Linked DNA regions of Homo sapiens: regions 2 and 3 are each linked to region 1. Evidence: promoter capture Hi-C in 16 types of primary human blood cells and fetal thymus (Javierre and others, 2016). All regions are on one chromosome and are shown on one strand. The core of a region is centred on a gene start or on the middle of the fragment in contact, and the rest is flanking DNA. Distances in the headings are between cores, read along the strand shown. Region 1 holds the start of FANCI (FA complementation group I). Region 2 overlaps TICRR (TOPBP1 interacting checkpoint and replication regulator). Region 3 overlaps TICRR (TOPBP1 interacting checkpoint and replication regulator).

Evidence for each region. The method cuts DNA at HindIII sites, captures the fragments that hold promoters and counts their contacts. A CHiCAGO score of 5 or more calls a contact.
Region 2: a fragment that was not itself captured here is called in contact with the fragment with the promoter of FANCI in region 1 in 1 of 17 cell types (erythroblasts); the score reaches 6.7 in erythroblasts.
Region 3: a contact is called between a fragment that was not itself captured here and the fragment with the promoter of FANCI in region 1, in 1 of 17 cell types (erythroblasts). The highest score is 6.4, in erythroblasts.

What each region holds. Positions count from the first base shown.
Region 1 is chr15:89,241,701-89,246,151 of GRCh38, reverse strand. It overlaps FANCI (FA complementation group I), which reads right to left and starts at 2,173. Exons shown (of 38, transcript NM_001113378.2): 1 at 2,119-2,173. RefSeq lists an enhancer at 1,591-1,970. The HindIII fragment of the contact is 10,185 bases long and covers 1-4,451 here.
Region 2 is chr15:89,596,726-89,601,329 of GRCh38, reverse strand. It overlaps TICRR (TOPBP1 interacting checkpoint and replication regulator), which reads right to left. Exons shown (of 22, transcript NM_152259.4): 8 at 1,855-2,006; 9 at 645-745; 10 at 1-32. Among named protein-coding and RNA genes, the nearest start is that of TICRR, 24 kb to the right of the region's middle. The HindIII fragment of the contact is 8,455 bases long and covers 1-4,604 here.
Region 3 is chr15:89,614,306-89,618,982 of GRCh38, reverse strand. It overlaps TICRR (TOPBP1 interacting checkpoint and replication regulator), which reads right to left. Exons shown (of 22, transcript NM_152259.4): 16 at 2,488-2,578; 17 at 773-831. It also overlaps a transcript of KIF7 not described here. Among named protein-coding and RNA genes, the nearest start is that of KIF7, 39 kb to the left of the region's middle. The HindIII fragment of the contact is 4,200 bases long and covers 1-3,521 here.

The DNA.
Region 1 (4,451 bases), core at 924-3,423:
AGAAAATCTGTTCCTCCTCTTCTTCCTCCTGTGTTTCCCGTCTCCATAAATGGTACCATCATCCACTCAGCTGCTCAGACCAGAAACCTAGGTAACATTCTTAACAACTTTGCCTTCATCCTTCACCACATCCATTACCAAGTCCTGTCAATGTTACCTACTAAATATCTCCCAAATCTGTCTACTTTTCTCCATCTCCACTACTGACACATTACCCCAAGCCACCACCATCTCTCACCTGAACTACTGCAATCGTTTCCTAACTTGTTCCCTTCTACGCAGCAACTAAAGTGATGTTTTTGAAACACAAACCTGATTATGTGACTTATCTTCCCTCCATGCCATCCTCATCTTAAAGCTCTTCAGTGGCTTCCATTGCTTTATCAGTCCAAAACCCTTAAGTAAGGATAAAATAAGTCCTGCAAGTTCTGACCCATGCCTACCTCCCTTTCATCACTCTGCTCCAGCCATGCAGAATTGCTTCCAGTCCTTCAAATCTCCAAGTTCTTTCTGCCACAGGCCCTTCCACATGTTTCCATCTGGAACTTAAATAAATATTCCTGCTTCCATCCACTGCCCCCCAATCTTTTATTACTAATTCCTACAAATCCTTCAGATCTTAGCTCAATCCACATCTCCTCAAAAGCTCAGTCTAGGCCAGGCGCAGTAGCTCACGCCTGTAATCTCAGCACTTTGGGAGGCCAAGGCGGGCGGATCACTAGGTCAAGACATCCAGACCTTCCTGGCCAAGATGGTGAAACCCCGTCTCTACTAAAAATACAAAAAAAAAAAAAAAAAAAAAAAAAAAAAAAAAAAATAGCTGGGCGTGACGGCACGCACCTGTAGTCCCAGCTACTTGTGAGGCTGAGGCAGGAGAATCACTTGAACTCAGGAGGCGGAGGTTGCAGTGAGCCGAGATCGCGCCACTGCACTCCAGCCTGGCAACAGAGGGAGACTCTGTCTCAAAAAAAAAAGAAAAGAAAAGAAAAGAAAAGCTCAGTATAGGTTGTTAAACGTTCCCCTAGTACATCCTCTCATGGCACCAGTAAACTCTCTTACATACTGTCACCAATTTTTAATATTACATGTGTAATTATCAGATTAACAAATGTTATCTCCCACTAGACTATAAGTCCCCTAAGGACACGGGCCGTAGCTGGTTTTGTTTATCATTGTATCTCCAGCACTTAGCACAGTACCTAGCTCAAACTAGGTAACAAATGTTTGTTGAACAAATTATTGAACCCCTATAATAGGGAAAACACTGAACCCAGCACTTTACATTCATTAACATGACTCCCACAACACCACCTACTAGGTAGGTGTAATATTAGCCCCATTTTAGATGAACAACTTTTGGGATTCAGAGATTAGGGAATTTCCCCCAAGATTAGAAGGCTACCAAGTGGCAGAGAGAGAAGTGAAACCCGAGTCTGTCCAGCTCCGGACTCCAAGATCCCATGCTTTGAACTACCGGATGCAAACAGGACACACCAACCTAAAAAGGTGTCCAGCCAGAAGGGGCAGGCGGCTTCGGAGGGGGATACGTTTAAATCAACCTAGGCACATTTGCTAAAATCATCCTAAAACCAGAGGTAAGACCAGAGGCGGGTGGCTGTGAATTCCCTGAACGCGAAGTAGATTCCTTGCCAAGAGACGCTGGGGAGCATCAGAGATCTGAAGCCAAGATCCGAGAATGGCAGAGCCCCGCCGGCGGGAAACGCCGCGGCCTTCCCTTCCGGGTTCTTCAGTTAACAAGCCGTGAGCGCAAATACAAAAACTATAACACGAAGCAGCTGGTGATGGAGACCGCGACCGGACAACAAATGCAAAGCAAGGTTAAGGGAAATTTCTCAGAAGTAAGAGCTCACCCTCGGCCAAGGGGGAAGAATTTAACAGAAGGGGCTCCGACTGAGGCACACCCCTAGGAGGGAACCGCGAAAGCTGAGGCAGGCGGCGGGAGACAGCGGAGCGCGCCTACTTTCCACGCCAGAGAAAATACCAGAACGCCAAGTCAGGACAGGAGCCTCCTTTCCCCCACAGAACCGCTCCCTCCCAGGGGCCCAGTCCCACAGCCCGAGCACCTCGCGAGCCGCTCTGCAGTCACCTCGGCCTCACCTCCGCCACAAACTTCCAAAAAGCCCGCTCAACCCAACGCCGCCACACTTCCGTTACCCGTAACAACAAGATCCGCCCCCGCGGCTCACTTCCGCCGTCCGGGTACCTGCGGGCGGGGTGTACCATGAAGACTGAAGGGGTGCCGGGAAGCGTGCGGGAGCGTCCCAGCTCACAGTCGGAGGGGGGCGCTGCCTGTCCGAACTCGCGCTAGGGACCGCCGATGAGCACGCGCGGTGGGACCTGAGCGTGCCCAGCGCGGTGTCCCGACAGGTTCAGCTTCCCTCCTGTCCTGTTGAGGGAGTAGTCAGTGCGGGAGGGGACTCACAATTGGTGGCCCCGCAGGTCTTGGCACTGGAAAAGCCTGGAAGGCAGAGGCGGATTTCATACTCCACCTTGTGCCAAGGGACGGTAACCCCTCAGATGTAAGCCCCCTGTGGCTAGGGGTCTTAATGGACTTTTGGGAGTTGTGGTTTTTGTTTGTTCTCTGTTTTGTTTTGTTTTGCGCTCCCCTTGCGTAACCCCAGCGTTTATTGCATAGCCTGGCAAAAGCAGCGAATATTTGTTAAATGAACAACTGACAGTGGGGCGAAGACCGACAGAGGGTGGGCCGAGATTCTATTTTGGGTTGAGGGAGCACCTTGCGCAAAGGGTCTGAGAGCAACGAGCAAGCAACAGAGCCCCTGGCCAGTTCAGAAGGCGAAGGTGCTCGGTGGGAGTGGGAAGGCAGGGGTTTCTAACTCCTTTTCATATTGGGGGCAGTGGGGAACCGCTGAAGGGGAAGGACATGACTGTGTTCGCATTGTAGACTGCTGTCTCGGGCAGGTGAGGACCGCAGAAACTGTTGAAAAGAGATGAGCCAGGTGGGGCGGACCGAAGGCAGGACCCCCCTTAGAAGACTGTAAGTTGTCCCAAAGATAGGTGGTGGTGGCCCAACCTTGGCAATGGGGACAGAAAGGAGTGGACCGCATGTGAAAGAGATTAGGAGGTAGAGATTTAGGAAGCCCAAATATCCGGATTTGAGGGGGTGTGGGCGTTGTTGAGGAATGTTCAGGCTTGAGCGACTGGGGTTGGGGGGCGGGGAGTTAATCCTGCAGTTGACTAACACAGGGAGCACAGGAAAAGGATGATGGGGTGATGATGAGCCCTTCAGAGTTGGACGCACCAAATTTGAGGTGCCTGTGGGATGGCAAGTGAAGGAATGCTAAGATCAGGGAGCATTTCAGTCTGGAACCTGACTCGACTCCCAGCCCTCGGGGGTAGAACGGGTCTACATGGCCAGTTATTGAAGAAACAGAGCTATTGGAGGAGAATGGTTCCTCTCAGCTGTCTAGACCTGCTCCTTGCTTGTGACCCTTCAGCATTTTTTTCCTTCTACATTTCTGTCCCAATACTGAGCTGTGATGTTTAACTAAAACACGGCAGCTTGAGGTAGAAGATGATTCCTGAAAGGAATCCTTTACCTTGCCAAGGAAGTAGATGACTTTGCCTCATCTCCCCACAAAATCTCCCAGGCTGCTTCTGGGATTCAGCCATGAATCTGTGGGTCTGGGTAGCTAGAACAAGCTCATTAGCCTCTCCGAGCCTCCACTGGCGCATCCCAGACGTACTTACTGAATTGCCTGTGTGTCTACCCACTGGCATTGATGCCTCAGGGTTCTTGTCTCCTCTTGTTGCACGAATGCATCATCTGTGTTTTCCATTTGCATTAATAAGTGTTACATATGCAAAAGAAGAGAAGAACAGATTCATTCAGATTAACAACAACGGTTTTTCACCCTGGTGCAGGCTTCCTTAACTAAGGAGCAAATCTTATCCGTCTGGTTCACTGACTAGACACTATACACTGAGAAGCTAGTGATACACTGATTCTAGAAAATACATCCAGTTAAAAACAGGTTTACAGTAATGGAACTAAATGTTCTTCAGACCTTGTCAATAGTACTTGTTTATCTTAACAACATTATAGCTACTAATATTTACAGGAGTCCAGAGAAAAAGTACAAATGGAAGCCCCTTACCATTCCCAACTCAGTCCTACAGTGTGAGGTCTCAGGCTTCCTATGCCTGCATGTGGACACCCAGCCTGAAGATCCACACCATGAGTCCCCCACAAAGCTGCCCTGTAGCCACCCTTTGGGTCTAGGGCTGTACATACTAGCAGGTCCACTCTAGGAAGGGTGGACCTAGGAAAAGGCCTATCTGGGCCCTGGAAGCAAATTTGAGGATGGTTAAGTAGGTACCTAGAGCATGATCTAAAGGAAGGTGGGTGGGCACATCCTCTGGACTCTGGGCAGAGGAAGACCAATAAGGCCCCCACCCCGCCCAAGAGCTCC
Region 2 (4,604 bases), core at 1,749-4,248, 350 kb before region 1:
TCTCCAAACGAAGAAATACCTGAAGCTGGCACCTTGAGAGAAAAAAATACTTGGTCATATCTACTTTGGATGTCACTAAACAAAAAGCTCCTTCCGTAAGCATAGATCTATTTATATAAGACACAACAACCAAAAAGGAGGAGAGCCAGTGCCTTTTCTAAAAACTGATGTAGTTATTAGATAAATAGGTGATTCAAGCTGCATATTATAACATAAAAAAGAATTGGCTACAAAAGCATCTTCATGCAGTTGGTAATCTTTTTTTTTTTTTTTTTTTTTTTCCTGAGACAGGGTCTTGCTCTGTTGCCCAGGCTAGAGTGCAGTACTGGGATCATAGCTCACAGTAGTCTTGAGCTCCTGGGCTCAAACAATCCTCCAGCTTCAGCATCCCAAGTAGCTAGGGCTACAGGTGTACACCACCATGCTCACCTAATTAAAAAAAATTTTTTGGTAGACACGGTCTCACTATATTGCCCAGGATGGCCTCAAATTCCTGGCTGCAAGCAATCCTCCTGCTTTGGCTTCCCAAGGTACTAGGATTACAGGCATGAGCCACCATGTCACGAACAATCTATTTTAAACTGATACGAGCTAATCTCACAGCTTTTAGAGTGATGATTTTTTAAAAAATGGTAGTTACTTACTCTCTAACTTTGTCTTCCTTATCCAGTTTTTTTCCTAGATTCTGTCGAAGACTTTTACTAGTTTTTAAGAGACTACTTTTTACTTGATTCAGGCAGTTCACCTAAAAATACAAAATTATTACATAGGAGAATAGTGTTACTTGTCATTATTTCTAATTTCTTTCACAGTTGACTAAAGGGAAATATATTCCCTTATAAACTTCTCTATTCTTTCATTTGAATGAAAAAGTGACGTGAATATTCTTCTTTTATATCTTTAAAAAGAACATGGTAAAAGTTATTTTGAGAGCTAGTGGGCATGGATAAAACAAGCCTGCCCTAAATAAAGTGTCTTAAAAGAAACGTTCCATAAAGCAGTGCTTAAGAAACCTAAGTATCATAAACAAATCCTCCTGTTTGCTTTAGAGAAGGAGCTCCGTGATGGCCACTGAACATGAATAAAACAACAACACGGTCTAAAACAGTGGTTTGCAACACTCCCAGTGCAAAAGGATTATCCAGGGGGCTTTTTAAAAGCGCCAACCCCAGAGATCTGTTTCAGTTCATCTGGAGAGAGCAAGGCATATATATATATTCTTTGGAGATGGAGTCTCGCTCCGTTGCCCAGGCTGAAGTGCAATGGTACGATCTTGCCTCACTGCAACCTCCACCTCCCAGGTTAAAACGATTCTCCTGCCTCAGCCTCCCGAGTAGCTGGGATTACAGGCACCTACCACCACATCCAGCTGATTTTTGTATTTTTAGTAGAGACGGGGTTTCACCATGTTGGCCAGGCTGGTCTCAAACTCCTGACCTCGTGATCCACCCACCCTGGCCTCCCAAAGTGCTGGTATTACAGGCGTGAGCCACCACGGTTAGTTGGCATATATATATTTTTTAAATGCTGTAAGTGATTCTAAAGTATAGCCAGGGTTAAAAACCACTGGCTTAATCATGCAGCTAACATATAGCTCACATGAGGAAAGGCTTTTCATTAGGAGAGAATTATATGTAATTATCCCCGCTCACCCCATCTCTTTGATTTCTGCCTTACCAGTTCACCATATCCACCTTCTGAGATCTGGAACTGTACTTACTCCCTTACTTATCTTACCATTTTTGAATCACATATGACATAACAGACATTTTCCAAGACACTAACCAAATCCACCACCAACCAACCAACCAACCACTACATCCATGACAAACAACAATATCTGGACCCTCTTACTTCTAATTCCTTGGTGCCTTTTGATTTTAGGAACATTTTAACGGTTGAGATCATGTTTCGAGCACATGCATACAACATGATTTCTCCTGTGGCCACAGTCTTTTGGTAATTTTCACGTATATATGATAGCAGCTCTTCCTCAGTTTTAAAATCTGAGAAAAAAATAAAATAAAATGGATTAATCATATCTTGCTCAAGTCCTTGTATTACTTAGGCCAGTTGTTGTCCACTGGGGAAAATATTTCCTTGCAGGGAACATTTGGCCTTGTCTGGATTGTCATGACTGATGGTGGTGGGGGCGGGGGTGGCTGCTGGCCATCTAGTATGTAGGAGCCAGGGATGCTGTTAAACATCCTACAATACATAGGACAGCCCTACAACGAAGAATTATCTGGTCTAAAATGTCAATAGTCCAGAGACTGAGAAACTACAGAGATAAGTGATTAATTTTATTTCATTTTATTTGAGACAAGGTCTTACTCTGACAATCAGGCTGGAGTGCAGTGGCACAATCTCGGCTCACCACAACCTCCACCTCCCAGGCAGGCTCAAGTGATCTTCCCACCTCAGCCTCTGGAGTAGCTGGGACCACAAGCATGTGCCACCACACCTAGCTTATTTTCTGTATTTTTGGTAAAGACAGGGTTTCACCATGTTGCCCAGGCTGGTCTTGAACTCCTGAACTCAAGCCATCTATCCGCCCTGGCCTCCCAAAGTGCTAGGATTACTGGCATGAGCCACCATGCCCAGCCAAGTGATTAATTTTAAGGCTCTGTATACCAAGTTTAAGTGTTAAAAATTTAAAGGTAGGAGGCCAGGCGTGGTGGCTCACGTCTGTAATCCTAACAGTTTGGGAGGCCGAGGTGGGTGGATCACCTGAGGTCAGGAGTTCAAGACCAGCCTGGCCAACATGGTGAAACCTCTTCTCTACTAAAAATACCAAAAATTACCCGGGCGTAGTGGCGGGCGCCTCTAATCCCAGCTACTCAGGAGGCTGAGACAGGAGAATCACTTGAACCTGGGAGGCGGAGGTTGCAGTGAGCCAAGACCGCACCATTGCACTCCAGTCTGGGCAATAAGAGTGAAACTCCGTCTCAAAACAAACAAACAAACAATTTAAAGGTAGGAAGAAATAAAACTGTCTTTGGTGATATGACATGATTAGAAAATCTGAAAGAACAAACAACAAAACTCCTGGAACTGGGCCGGGTGTGGTGGCTCACGCCTGTAATCCCAGCACTTTGGGAGGCTGAGGTGGGCAGATCACGAGGTCAGGAGATCGAGACCATCCTGGCTAACACGGTGAAACCCCATCTCTACTAAAAAAAACAAACAAACAAACAAACAAAAAACTCCTGGAACTAACAAGTGATTATAGCAAATTTGCAGGATACAAGATTAATACATAAAAGTCCATTGCTTTCCCATATGCCAGTAATGTACAAGCAAAATTTAAAATTAAAAACACATTACCATTTAAATTAGCACCCCCCCTAAATATGAAATACCCAGGTATTAAATCTAACAAAATTTGTATAAGATCTATATGCGGAAAACTACAAAATTCTGTGAACAAAATCAAAGAACTAAATAAGTGGAGAGATATTCCATGTTCACAGCAAGAAAGACTCAATACTGTCAAGATTTCAGATTCCCAATTTGATCTATAGATTCTATGTGATCCCTATCAAATAAGTTATTTTCTGCATATTGACAAACTGATTCTAAAGTTTATATGAAGAGGCGAAAGACCCAGAATAACTAACTCAATATTGAATGAGAAAAACAAAGTTTGAGGACTGATAGTACCAACCTTCAGGACTTACTATAAAGCTACAGTAATCAAGACAGTTTGTGTGATATTAGCAAAAGAATAGAGAGATCAATGTAACAGGAGAGCCTGGAAATAGACCTACATAAATATAGTAAACGGATTTTTTTTTTTTTTTTTGAGACAGAGTCTTGCTCCGTCACCCAGGCTGGAGTGCAGGGGCGCAATCTCGGCTCACTGCAACCTCTGTCTCCCGGGATCAAGCGATTCTCATGACTCAGTAACCCCAAGTAGCTGGGACTACAGGCGCCTGCCACCACGCCTGGCTAATTTTTGTATTTTTAGTAGAGACAGGGTTTCACCATGCTGGCCAGGCTGATCTCGAACTACTGACCTCGGGTGATCTGCCCGCCTCAGCCTCCCAAAGTGCTAGGATTACAGGCATGAGTCACTGCACCTGGCCTCCACTGATCTTTGACAAAGGAGCAAAGACAATACAATAGTGGAAGACTAATACAATCATCTTAGCAATAGATAAAAGCAGCAGAAAAAAATTACTAAAAATGTTGAATATTCAAACATTAATAAACTTGATGTACAGACACGTATAAAACCAGATATTCAACAATTAGAGAATACCCATTATTTTCAAGTGCACATTAGGTCAGTTTCAGCAAATATTAAAGAATCAATCTTACAGACCACATTGAGCACAGTTCAAAAATATTAAAAGCTAATTATAAAACACTCCCTTATATTATGGATGTCAGAAAATATTTATAAATAAGTATCAATGAAAATAGAAAACAGTAAATACATAATGCAGTTAGTTATACTTAAAGAGAAAATGTACAGACTTTAGACAAGTGATTATTTTTGTAAAGCAGACAAATTAAAAACTATTAACTATCTAAGGGTCCAACACGTGAAGTAATATGAGAGAGTAAACCCCAAAAATAAAGGTAGGAAGGTAATCATA
Region 3 (4,677 bases), core at 172-2,671, 370 kb before region 1:
TATACTTTTATTATTTTATTTTTTAGAGACATGGTCTTGCTCTGTCGCTAGGCTGGAGTGCAGAGGCACGATCATAGCTCACTGCAGCCTTGAACTCCAGAGCTCAAGAGATCCTCTCACCTCAGCCTCCCGAGTAGCTGGGACCATAGGAGTATGCCAACATGACCAGCTGATTTTTTAAATTTTTTATAGACACAGCACCTCACTGTGTTGCCTAAGATGGTGTCAAACTCCTGGCCAGTGATCCTCCCCACTTGGCTTCCCAAAGTGCTGGGATTACAGGCGTGAACCACCACACCTGCTGCTCACCCTCATTCAACATGTGCTTACTGATCACCTGCTATGTGCCAGGCACTGTGTGTTGGGGGCACGGAATACACAGATACATAAGGGGCAGCAGCAAAGATAATGTCTCAGAAAAGACACTCCCCAATAAAAAATTTCCCTGCCTTCTTGAAAAAATATGTAGTGAAAAGCTCCAACAAAGTTATATATACTTTTAAAATAAGTCATAGCACTTTGTATAACACAGTTTAGCCCTCATCCTGAATTTCATATCTGTTGTGCAAAAATATTTCTTTTCCAGAATTCTCTCAGTACCTTCTATGCAGAAGAACATTCACTTATAAATATTTACTGAGCTGCATTGTGGACTCAGAGCCATCACAATTTCTGTAAAATATCTTAGGATATGCCAAGTAACAATACATACAGAAAGGTTTTCATAGAAGCTGGGTAGATTGCATTAAAAACAAAAAGAGATAACACTCACCATCTCCTTTTTCAGGGGACTCTTCAACAACACCAATATCAGGACCAGGATCAGAGGACCTCGAGGAACCACATGCACAAGGATTACTCCATACCACTTGTAATTAACACTTATTAAGGAGACAGGCAGCTTCTCACTTAACAAGATCACAAAGATCACAGGGTCTGATAACACCAGTGCTGGTAAAGGGCTCTCATACGTGATTATTGTCAAGAGGGAGGCTGGCCACAGTGTCTCACGCCTGTAATCCCAGCACCTTAGGAGGCTAAGGCGGGCGGATCACTTGAGGTCAGGAGTTCGAGACCAGTCTGGCCAATATGGTGAAACCCCGACTCTATTAAAAATACAAAAATTAGCTGGGCGTGGTGGCATGCGCCTGTAGTCCCAGCTACTTGGGAGGCTGAGGCAAGAGAATCGCTTGAACCCGGGAGGCAGACGTTGCAGTGAGCCAGGATCGCGCCACTGCACTCCAGCCTGGCGACAGAGCTAGACTCTGTCTCAAAAAAAAAAAAAAAAAAAAAGATAGCTGGGTGCAGTGGCACACACCTGTAGTTCAGCTACTCTGGAGGCTGAGGTAGGAGAATCACTTGAACCTGGGAGGCAGAGGTTGCAGTGAGCTGGGATTGTGCCACTGCACTCCAGCCTGAGTGACAGAGTGAGATTCCTACTCAGAAAAAGAGTGAGATGGTTAGAATGTGGTTTTGTTTTGCTTTTATTTTTTGGAAAGCAATTTTACAACATCAGAATTATAAACCCCATTAATATATTAAAAAATTATACCAAACTATCAGACTATCACAGTAATGAGCAGCAACATTCAAGTTTCTGTTTAAGAGCCTTAATTTCTGCCAATGTGTCAAGGATGTTATAAAAAATTTAATTAAAAATATATATGCCTCTGACCCACCAATTTCACTTTTCGCAATTTAACCTATAAACTTCACAAGTGTGTAAAATCCATATACGAATAATGTCGAGATGGGTTTCTGACAAAATAGAAGGAGGTGTGCTTCTATTACCCTTGAAATCAAGCTAAAAACCCATGACATTATCTATACAATGAGCAGGAGACAATTCTGAAAGGCAGAGAGAAGAAGGCAGCCTGGCTGGGGACTTTGGGACCTGAGGAGGGCAGTGAGCTAGCTCCCTGGGTTTTCTGTTTGCTGCCTACACCCCTAGACTGGGTGCCAGAAAAGCTGACAACCCAGGTATACCAGGAGCAAACTACAGATGCCCCAAGGAAGGAGAGCTCTCAAGCCAAAGAACTAGGAAAGGGTCAGCCAAGCAAGACAGAAAACTTTCAGACAATAACAGCCCTACTCCAACCAATCGCTGCAGAAAAAACTGCAGCCCCACCCACACCTCTGTCAGCAAAGGCTGAGTTGGGATCCCAGACTTCCACCTTCTCTATGTTCACAGATGAATGGATTTAAAAACCGTGGAGTATCTATTCCATGGAATACTTCTCAGCAATAAAACAGGATGAACTATTGCATGCAACAACATGGATGAATCTCAAAATAATTGAGGCCAGACAAGTGTATATTTTATATGGTTCTCCTGCTCCCATGGAGAGCTTATAGAATGCTCTTTGGTTTTAAGCAACATAGTTAAGATTTAAGTCATGAAGGTCAAGAGAAGCGAAGTAGTGGCCCACAAGGCCGCTTTGAGGTGGTGTGGGTGTATGAAGAAGCCCGGATGGGGATGTCACTCACCTGCCCTTGATTTGTCTGTGCAGCAGCCTTTTGGAGATCTGCTTATGCACTGGAGTCTCGGCCACACTCTTAGTCAGCAGTTTGTGATAACCTAAAATGTAAACACAGCTTAAATCATAAATTTCATTTAACCTCATCAAGAAGCAGCAGTAAGGCCAAGGGAGCAGTTTGAACTTCTGTATGGCTTATTACCTAGCTGGAGAGGATCTTAATGGTCTTTGGGCTAAGTTCTATGGTTACAGGACTCAACATGATAGAAGTTTGTCAGCACTATTAGAGATTAAAAAATGACATAAGACAATGTAAATATAGGCTGGGCACAATGGCTCATGCCTGTAATCCCAGAACTTTGGGAGGCTAATGAGGGCGGATCACTTGAGGTCAGGAGTTCAAGACCAGCCTGGCCAACACGGTGAAAGCCTATCTCTACTAAACATACAAAAATTAACTGGGCGAGGTGGTGCGTGCCTGTAAGCCCAGCTACTTGGGAGGCGGAGGCAGGAGAATCACTTGAACCCAGGAGGCAGAGGTTGCAGTGTGCCAAAATCATGCCGCTGCACTCCAGCCTGGGCAACAGAGGGAGACTCCATCTCAAAAAAAAAAAAGACAATATAAATATAAAATTTTATCTAATAAGCAATCCTGAAAAAATGAAAATTGCTCACTTGTTAAGACTAACACCTAGTTGGTGGTTCTAGTATTTATGATTAAATGAAATATGTGAAAATGCCGATATGCCACATAAATGTTAATTATTAAGATAAACGTAGGTGGCATAAAATTTCTTAGTAGAGTAGGCAGCCAAGCTACTTATGAGAGGACTGATTTAAAGTGAGCTTAAAATGATTAGTAAAGAGGAGTGATGCCAGTAAGAATGGTGAGGTAAGGACCTCTGAACACTCTCCTCCATAAAGGAACAGAGATCACTGGGAAAAATGGTCAAAAATCTTTTCCAGAACTCTGAACATTAATTAAAGGTTTGCAACAATCTAGGGAGTATTTGTTCAAGAAAAATGGTTGAATCTCAGGAAGCTTTAACTTGCCTTAGTCCCTGCCCCTTCCCCCTAGCCCTACGGTAGCTTTAAAAATCAATTTCCCACAATCACAGTGAAAACCAACAGCCCAGCAGCCTCTGGACAGGGCAGAATGGGGTTGGAGCTCCTCCAAAACTCCATTCTCAGATAACTGTCATCCATTAACCTGTCTGGCAGTTCCCTGGAGAATCCTACTCAAATCAAGGCTTGTCTTGCTTTGACCTGACTCAGAACTCATACAGTGTAAACCACCTTTTTCCCTGACAGCATTTACTGAAAACAATCAGCAGCAATTGTTAAATGTTACAGCTGCCTGAGGTGGTGGTAACATTTGGTGCAATAACAAGCTGGCCAAAAGTTTAATTGGGAAAATTGGGGAATGAGACATCACAGGGGACTTTGCAAATCTCTGATGACATTCTTAGGCATCCAAAAGTCCACACACGTGTAGCACTGTGCATGTGCCGAGGATAGACTTGAGAAGCCTGTAAGCTGCCACCTATGGCTAACCTTGAGGCTCTGGCAAAACAGAAAGTGAAGTGGAATTCTAAACTGCCTGGCTGAGTGTTGAAGGCATGACCCAACACACAGAGCCCCTCAGTAGGGGCTGTGAAACTTATGGGTTCCAGGCATTTAAGGAAATCTCTGTCCAATCATTAGTTGACCACTAAGACCACTGAGCAGAGGCTTTAGTGGCCACACATGATAAAGAATACAAAATTTAAACAAATAGTTTAGAAAAGTGACTAAACAAAAACAATAACAAATCCTGGCAGGGTTGGGGTGGATCTGATTGTTACAGCTGCCTCATTATATTGTTTAAAATATCCATGCTGGGTGCAGTGGCTCATGCTTGTAATCCCAGCACTTTGGGAGGCTGAGGCAGGCGGACTGCTTGAGTCCAGAAGTTCAAGACAAGCCTGGCCAACGTGGTGAAACCACATCTTTACAAAAAAATACAAAAATTAGCCAGGAGTGGTGGTGCATGCCTTTAGTCCAGCTAGCTACTTGGGAGGCTGAGGTGGGTGGGAGGATTGCTTAAGCCAGGAAGTCAGGGAGTTTGAGGCTACAGTGAGCCAAGATCATACCACTGCACTCCAGCCTGAGTGACAGAGCAAGACTCCATCTCAAAAAAAAAAAAAAATCCAGTTGTCAA